2 separate regions of the Homo sapiens genome follow, and region 2 is linked to region 1. The links are contacts of gene promoters, found by promoter capture Hi-C in blood cells and fetal thymus (Javierre and others, 2016). All regions are on one chromosome and are shown on one strand. The core of a region is centred on a gene start or on the middle of the fragment in contact, and the rest is flanking DNA. Distances in the headings are between cores, read along the strand shown. Region 1 holds the start of SLC60A2-DT (SLC60A2 divergent transcript). Region 2 overlaps LOC107986522 (a long non-coding RNA gene).

Region 1 (4,352 bases), core at 1,186-3,685:
ACTCCAGCCTGGGCGACAGAGCGAGACTCTGTCTCAGAAAGAATAAATTAATTAATTAAATTAAGTCAGGTGTGGTTGCTTACACCTGTAATCCCAGCAATCTGGAAGGGAGAGATGGTAGGACTGCTTGAGCTCAGGGTTTTGAGATCAACCTAGGCAACCCCATCTCTACAAAAATAAAAATGAAAAAAATCAGCCAGGCGTGGTGGCGCATGCCTGTAGTCCCAGTTACTAGGGAGGCTGAGATGGAAGGATCGCTTAAGCCCTGAGGTCGAGACTGTAGTGAGTTCTGACTGAGCCACTGGAAAACGTCAAAACCTTGATCAAAACATCAAAATATGATTCCTGTTTTTTATGTTGTTAAACAGCAATATTTCTGGATGCACATGGAGTCCTTCCCCTGAACTATACATATAAAACATACAGGAGATAAACAATTTAAATGTTTCTAAATCTACACTTTTCTTCCACGCCATCAGAATTAGTCAGTAAAGGTTGCTTAAAAAATATTACACGCCCAAGTACAGAATGACTTTAACAATAAAACTTTACTCAATGCAGTGTCAGCAAGAGGTAAGGATTACAATTGACTTTCAGAGGAAATTCATTGGACATTTAAAGAAAAAAATGTTTCCAATCAGTCTACATTTCCAGAATAACTGATTCTAATTGCCCTGCTCTGCTCTAAATGCATGGGGTGCGCCCCCTGCCCAACTCGTAACAGTCCAAGACCACGGACCACTATGGGCCCAGGTGCACAGCAAGCACCTCGTACTTCGAGAGAAGCCTGAGCACAGAATCTAATCAAATTAGTTCATGTCTTCAAAGGATTTACAACAGGACCGGACAAGTCAGTGACGACTCACCAAAAGTCTGAAGTGATTTCTTTCTTCACCCCTCCCCACCGCCCCCAATCAAAATACTCTAAGAAACAACTGTGGCTCAGAGTCCCTGAGATGGTAAGTGACCACACATGACTCTTGGGAGGACTCATCCTCTCAACTCCCCCAGGATCATAATTATCAAGTGATAAGGAGGAGGTTTCCGAAAAGTGAATTGAGTGGCGACCCAGGGGTTTGGCAAAAGGCGCCTCTAGGCTTGCCCTTTGCTCCAAGAAAAACATTTAAGAATCTAAAGGTTGGTTTTATTAATAAATAGGATGGTGGGCAGAGTAAAAGACATATTTCTGGCTCTATCACTTAACCAGCTGTGTGATCCAGAAAGTCACTTTCCCCTCCGGGCCTATTTCCTTATCTGCAAAATTAAGCGGTTGGCTGAATTTGGTCAGATCACCAGGAAGAAATTCCAGAAAAGTAGTTTTTCTGTGTAATAATTTGGGGGTTGAGTGGGTGGGTGCGGAGAGCAGCGGCCAAAGACCTGGTGAACCCCTCTTGCAACCTTCCCATCCGACGAAGGAGACGTAGGAAGGCTTGCCGGGCCGGGCGCCGTGGCTCACGCCGGTAATCCCAATACTTTGGGAGGCCGAGGTGGGCGGATCACCTGAGGTCAGGAGTTTGAAACCAGCCTGGCCAACATGGCGAAGCCCCGTCTCTACTAAAAATACAAAAATTAGCCGGGCTTAGTGGCAGGCGCCTGTAATCCCAGCTACTCGGGAGGCTGACGCAGGAGAATCGCTTGAACCCTGGGGGCAGAGGTTGCAGTGAGCCGAGATCGCACCACTGCACTCCAGCCTGGGCAACAGAGCGAGACTCCGTCAAAAAAAAAAAAAAAAAAAGCTTGCTGGAGCTGAAAGACGTATTCAGAAAATCTATTTCCTCCAAGATTAGAATTGTGCCCATTTTCTAGATGATGAAACTGAGGCCCAGTCAGATTAGGTAACGCGCCCAAGGTCAGTTTGCAAGTGGCGAAGGCAAGACTCGAACGCCCCGGCCTGGGAGTGTTGCAGCCCCGGCTCTCACCAGCCCCAGGAAGGAGGCACACAGCATCAAGGTGGTGAACCACCGCAGCTTGCTCCCGGTCCCACCGCTCTGCCAGGAGACCACCACCACCTCCGGCTCCGGCTCATTCTCCGCCGGGGCCTCCGCCTGCAGGAGCCGCTGCCCCGCAGCCGGGGGCCCGGCCCCACGGAGCTCCACCTCTAACTCCAGCTCGGCGGCTCCGGAGAAGTCGTCTTGCTGCCGCCGCGCTTCTCAGCAGAACTTCTGGAGCTCCGAGAAGAGCACTGGCCCCGACCCCAGGCACGGGTGTCCCTCCGGGCGCCACCTCCCAGCGGACCGCCCGGAACCGGGGCAGAGAAGAGGAACTTCGGCACGCCGCAGGTGTTCGTGGCAAAAGACGCTCGCTCTCCAGCAAGCAGGCGCATGCGCGGGTCACGTGGCGGAAATGTGGCCTCTCGCCAACCGCTATCGTGCCTCAAGCCGGAAGTTGATATGGTTGCCTAGGAGACCGGACGTAGCTCTCTAGCCTAGGCATCATACTTAGCTGAGCTCACAGAGGCTGGCGGACGTGCGCCCCATGGCGGAGCGAGCTGAAGTTGCAGCCTGGGACCAGGGAAATCAAGAGGTAAAAATGCGGCCAAACCATTATGAGGAAAAGGGGCCAAGAATTACACTGTAGCGCCTCGCGCCGGCTCCCCGGTCTCCTGGGGAGCGAAGGGAGCCTGAAGAGCTGGTCCTTATACAGCTTTCTGAAATCCCTGAGATCTGTCAATGAATCGCGCATCTTTCACTCCACAAGTATTTGTTGAACGTCATTGTGTAAGTTATCACGTATATTATCTCAACCCTCACAACACTCCAAATTCCACGTTATCCCCGTTGTACAGATAGAAAGATTAAGTCATAGAAAATAATTAACAATCTGCCCAAGCTCAGTCATCGAATTAGTGGCCGTATATAAACAGTGTAACAGTAGCTCAAGAAAGAAATCGGGATCCAAAGCTGTGGTTTCAAACACAATTCCTGAAATAATTCCAATTCCTGAAATAATTCCATCGTTGTAAAGAAGTGGAGCGTGGCATCGATTTGAGGAATTTTTTTTATATACTTTAAGTTTTAGGGTACATGTGCACAACGTGCAGGTTAGTTACATATGTATACATGTGCCATGTTGGTGTGCTGCACCCATTAACTCGTCATTTAACATTAGGTATATCTCCTAATGCTATCCCTCCCCCCTGATTTGAGGAATTGTTTTCCTTTTGCTCTTTAACAAAGCGTACCACAGCCTCAAAATGTTATATACTTTTCTTTGTGGTCTATTTGAAATGTTCTTTTCCACCTGATTCTTCCAACTTTCATCCACTTAGGCTCCCAGACTACAAACCTTAGTCTCATCATCCCTTGCAACCCGTCTCTCCAGACTTATTCGTTTAGTCATTAAGTCTTCCCCCCACCCGCACCCCCACTTTTTTTTTTGTTTGTTTGTTTTCTTTTTTGAGACAGAGCCTATGTCGCCCGGGCTGGAGTGTTGTGGCGCTTTTTGGTAGAGACGAGTTTTCACCATGTCGGCCAGGCTGGTCTCGAACTCCTGACCTCAAGTGATTCGCCTGCCTTTGGCCTTCCAAAGTGCTGAGATTACAGGTATGAGCCACCATGCCCCGCCAAGCATTTCTTTTTTATTTATTTATTTATTTATTTATTTATTTATTTATTTATTTATTTGAGACGGAATCTCGCTCTGTCGCCCAGGCTGGAGTGCAATGGTGCGATCTCGGCTCACTGCAACCTCTGCCTCCTAGGTTCAAGCGATTCTCCTGCGTCAGCCTCCTGAGTAGCCGGGATTACAGGCGCGTGCCACCACGCACGGCTAATTTTTTTATTTAGTAGAGACGGGGTTTCACCATGTTGGTCAGGCTGGTCTCGAACTCCTGACCTCATGATCCGACCGCCTCGGCCTCCCAAAGTGCTGGGATTACAGGCGTGGGCCACCGCGCCCGGCCCGCCAAGCATTTATTTTAGAGCAGGTCAGCTGGCATTCCTTCATATGAGAATGTCTTTATTTCACTTTGATTCCTGAAAATATTTTCACTGAAAATAGAGTTCTGGGCTAACCGTTATTTCCTTTCAGCACAGAAAGATGAGATTTCTATTCGAGTTTTAGCTACCCATGCCACCCAACAGTTCCCAGCTGGGGTCTCTCCTCAGGACAAACCACAAGAAAAGAAGAAAAAAGCCAGGAAATTCATCCCCTTGCAGGTTTCTAAGTTTTGACTCCCTACCTCAATTCTTTATTTACTTTTCAGAGGCGGCAGGTAGTTGCCATTTGTATTTTGTCATGAGTCTTTCAGTCGTAATCAGTGAGAGAGGGGCTGAAGTAGACTAATGACGCCAAACCAGGACTTTTCTACCTATCTTTGGAGAATCCATGTTAAAACAAACAAACAAACAAAC
Region 2 (4,390 bases), core at 867-3,366, 270 kb before region 1:
AGGTAAGGAATGCTGTCCTTTGACACTCAATTAAATTGGCTCAAATCCTGTTTCTTTGTGTAGAGGGAGCCCTATATTCCTTCCTCACTGTTTGGGGGTTCAGGGAGGGAATATGGATGGTTTACAATTTCTTTTCTAGTCACCGTTAGGTCCAAGTTCTTTGCTTTTGTATGCTTAGTTCGGAGACTGGAAGGGGCATATTGCTGTCCCTGAGCCCCATATCTCCCAGATGTGAAACTCAGCTCTTTTTTCTGCATCAGTAAAACGGGCTGAAGCTGGAGTGATATCAACTTTGACAAAAAGCCAAGAAGTAAGGCATGTGTGTACTAGGTCTTCAAATATTAAAACTTTATTGTGGGTACTATTTGCTTTTGAAATTTTAGAAGAATATTTTGTATTAATTAACCCTTTATTATATAGAGTAGCATGCCAGAAATTTACTTGGAATTTTCTTTCCTATTTTTTAAATGACTCTGACTTATTACTTGTGCTATAGTATTACATTGGTGCAAAAGTAATAGCGGTTTTTGCCATGATTTTCAATGGCAAAGAAGAATGAAGCTGCTTCTTTATTTCTCACATATGACAACCTAGTAACTGCTAATTAAACATATACAGAATTTTCAAGTTAATCATAATTTTACCTCAAATAGATATTACTGTGTCTTCTGTTTCTTTGCTCCAAACTGGATATTTCTTGTTTTTGTGATGGGCAGTATATATACTGCATAAAAGTTCAGATTCTGGAGTTAGACTGTAGAGCTTCAAATCCTATTTCACTTACTAGTAATGTGACCCTGGACAGACTACCTAGCCTCCCAGTAACAAATGAGGATAAGGATAGTACCTATCCTCATATGGGTTAAATACACATGTATAGAGTGTTTCGAACAGTGTCTCACACATGGTAAACACACAATGGAGGGTAGGTGCTCTTATTTTCATATGCTTTATGCTATATATGCATTGTTATGGGCTGAATATGTCCTCCCCAAATTCCCAAGTTGAAGCCCTAACCTGCAGTACTTCAGAACATGACTATATTTAGAGACAGGGCCTTTAAAGAGGTAATTAAGATAAAATGGAATTGTTATGGTGAGCTGTAATCCAATAGGACTGGTGTCTACATAGAAGAGGAGATGAAGACACAGATAACATGCACAGAAGGACAACCATATGAAGGCACAGCAAGAAGACAGCTGTCTTAGCCTGCTCAGGCTGCTATAACAAAATACCATAAACTGGATATCTTACAAAAAACACACAATTATTTCTCAAAGTTTGGAGGCCAGAAAGTCCAAGACCATGGTGCTGGCAGATTCAGTGTCTGCTAAGGACCCATTTCCTCACAGGCGGTGCCTTCTTGCCCTGTCTTCACATGGTGGAAAGCGTGAGTGGTCGCTTTGGGCCCATCTTATAAGGGAACAAATCTCACTCGTGAGGGCTTTGACTTCATGACATAATCACTCCCAAAGTCCCCATTTCCTTATGTCATTACCTTAAGGTTAGGATTTCAACATATGCATTTGTGGGGACATAAATACTCAGACCATAGCAGCAGTCATCTGCAAGTCAAGAAGAGAGACCACGGAAAAAAGCAAACCTGTCAACACCTTTAGCTTGGACTTCTTGCCTCCAGAATTATAAGAAAATAATTTTCTGCAGCTTAAGCCACCCAGTTTGTGGTACTTTGTTACGGCAGCTCTAGCAAATACATGCATCAAAATTAAATATGGACAGAAAAAAATAAATATGATGAGAAACTAGTGGTTTGTCATTACATTTTCTCTCTCTTTTTTTTTTTTTTTTTTTTGAGATGTAGTCTTGCTCTGTCGCCCAGGCTGGAGTGCAGTGGTGCAGTCTCGGCTCACTGCAACTCCGCCTCCCGGGTTCACGCCATTCTCCTGCCTCAGCCTCCCAAGTAGCTGGGACTACAGGCGCCCACCACCATGCCCGGCTAATTTTTTTTTGCATTTTTAGTAGAGACGGGGTTTCACCGTGTTAGTCAGGATGGTCTCGATCTCCTGACCCTGTGATCCATCCGCCTTGGCCTCCCAAAGTGCTGGAATTACAGGTGTGAACCACCGTGCCTGGCTGTCATTACATTTTCTAACAGCATTAAACTGGTAGGATATCTCTAAGAGATTTTAAATTTTGTGAAGCTAAAATCACAGTAGCTAAGAGCACTGTGCTGTACAGTAGTTTGGCTCTACTACTTCCTAGTTATGTAACTTCAGGCAAGTCAAGCCTGAAGACATATACAAAGGCTGTATAAGCTCCAGTGCTTCGTATGTGTGTTAGGACTAAATGAGATGTGGAGCCCAATGTCAGGCACATAATAAGCATTCAGTTAATAACATTCCATCTGTCTGTCTAGCTATCTATCTAAATGTCTTCTGAGAAGGGTAGGGACAGTGGAGTAACATTTTCTTAGCACCTAACATTTTCTTCTTTCTTTTTTAAACCAGATAAAGAAACTGAGGCCCATAGAAACAAAGCAATTTTGCTAAGGTTATACAGAGAGTATGGTGGAGCTGGATTCACAGGTGGGTTTGCCTGACTCCAAGACGCATTCTCTTTCCACTATACCACATTACCTTTCTCATTAATTTCCTAAAACCAATGGGTTCTAGTATGCTGTTCACAGTACACTCACGCAATACCTGCTTCCTAGTACATACATCTATTTTATAGGCGAGGGATGATAGAAGCCAGGGCATTAGAAAATTAAATATCTTTTTTTATTATTATTTTTTAAGACAGAGTCTCACTCTGTCGCCCAGGCTGGAGTGCAGTGGCACGATCTCGGCTCACTGGAAGCTCCGCCTCCCGGATTCACGCCATTCTCTTGCCCCAGCCTCCTGAGTAGCTGGGACTACAGGCGCCTGCCACCGCGCTCGGCTAATTTTTTGTATTTTTAGTAGAGACCGGGTTTCACTGTGGTCTCGATCTCCTGACCTCGTGATCCCACCCGCCTCGGCCTCCCACAGTGCTGGGATTACAGGCGTGAGCCACCGCGCCTGGCTAAATATCATTTTAAAAGAGTCTTCCAATACATGAAAGAAAAACAAAAAGAAAAAAAAATAAAGCTCAAACGTTACACAGAGGAAATTCTTGCTTTGGTAATTCTAAAGAAATTGTGACAATTATGGTTTAATGACCTCGTAAGAATGTGGCATAAGTGATTTATATTCACACTGCGGTGTCCTGATTTGAACTAACAGACTACAGTTTCTAAAGAATAACTTGTGCAGCTATTGGACCAACCTCAATGTCTAATGTTAGCACAAAACTTGCTCCAGAAGTACTTAATCCCAGTTAAAGAAGCAAAGTGTGTTCTTAATTGCTAAATAATAGCTCTCTATTTCATTTTGTAACTTTTCCACACCCCAAGTCGGCAATCACAGAACAGCTACCTATGGAGTTATTTTAAGATATCCGAACAAAGCATTTTTCCAACTAGTTTCTTTAACAAAACAAACAAATAAACAAAACATGAAGGTAACCATTTCTTGAATCATCTGATTTTTATTAAATTACCTCCCAGAAAATGTTTAATTCCTTCATGTGAGCTGTAAACTCACATATTTATTTCATTTTTGTTAAAAACAGAGTGGCTTAAAGAGGATGACACCATATGCAATACCAGTTTCTAAATGTCTCAATGAGGATGACCACATACACATTTCTACCACTTCAATTATTCCTAAGCAAGTCTTTTCTAAGTAGAGCTAAGCTGGTTGCTGTGAACTACTTTGCTCCAGCAAGTATACTGACAGGAGCATAGTGTGCAATTATATTTAGGTATTTGGGCTTGAAATGTGAAACCCCCTATGTTCAAAAACTCTTTAATCCATTGGAAATATTTTAAATGCCTAGTGTAAATCACAATGCAGTTCACTGACAGTTCCCTAGATTGTTATTGGCAACAGCATGAAAGAGCAAAAGATTGAAAATTGTTTTTTAAAATATTTGCATCTAAAAGAACATAGAGCATAGTTCGAGGCAAATAAACAAGTAGGAAGGCTTTTCTTCCTCCTCTTGCCCAAGTTCAGAGGCAGTAACACTCTGGAAAGGCTACCAAGTTATGACAAAGGGTCTGAAAATCCACGTATTCTCCAATAACAGATTGAAGGTTGCATAAAAAAAGGGCCCATGGAGGAATAGGAAAAGGAGAGAGAGCAGCTCGAAGCAGAGATGGGGAGGAGGTGGGGACACAAAGCACTGTCTGATACCATTCTCATCAACCAGATGTAGGAGGGAGCAAAGCTGGGATACTATCCCTGTTCTATTCTAACTCCAGCACTGAGTTACGATGCCCTCAAAGAAACAATTAAACCACTATATGGAAAATGACAATATTTCACCTGAATTTCTGTGATTTGAGATC

What was found. The method cuts DNA at HindIII sites, captures the fragments that hold promoters and counts their contacts. A CHiCAGO score of 5 or more calls a contact.
Region 2: a fragment that was not itself captured here is called in contact with the fragment with the promoter of SLC60A2-DT in region 1 in 1 of 17 cell types (neutrophils); the score reaches 5.5 in neutrophils.

What each region holds. Positions count from the first base shown.
Region 1 is chr6:111,257,295-111,261,646 of GRCh38, reverse strand. SLC60A2-DT (SLC60A2 divergent transcript) reads left to right here and starts at 2,435. Exons shown (of 3, transcript XR_001743807.2): 1 at 2,435-2,523. SLC60A2 (solute carrier family 60 member 2) reads right to left here and starts at 2,308. Exons shown (of 4, transcript NM_153369.4): 1 at 1,920-2,308. The coding sequence starts at 1,946. LOC124901378 (a long non-coding RNA gene) reads right to left here. Exons shown (of 2, transcript XR_007059708.1): 2 at 3,937-4,352. RefSeq lists enhancers at 2,199-2,278, 2,599-2,658. The HindIII fragment of the contact is 14,878 bases long and covers 1,739-4,352 here.
Region 2 is chr6:111,524,315-111,528,704 of GRCh38, reverse strand. LOC107986522 (a long non-coding RNA gene) reads left to right here. Exons shown (of 2, transcript XR_001743809.2): 1 at 1-2; 2 at 2,469-2,780. It also overlaps TRAF3IP2-AS1. Among named protein-coding and RNA genes, the nearest start is that of REV3L, 43 kb to the right of the region's middle. RefSeq lists an enhancer at 4,251-4,390. The HindIII fragment of the contact is 5,796 bases long and covers 1-4,390 here.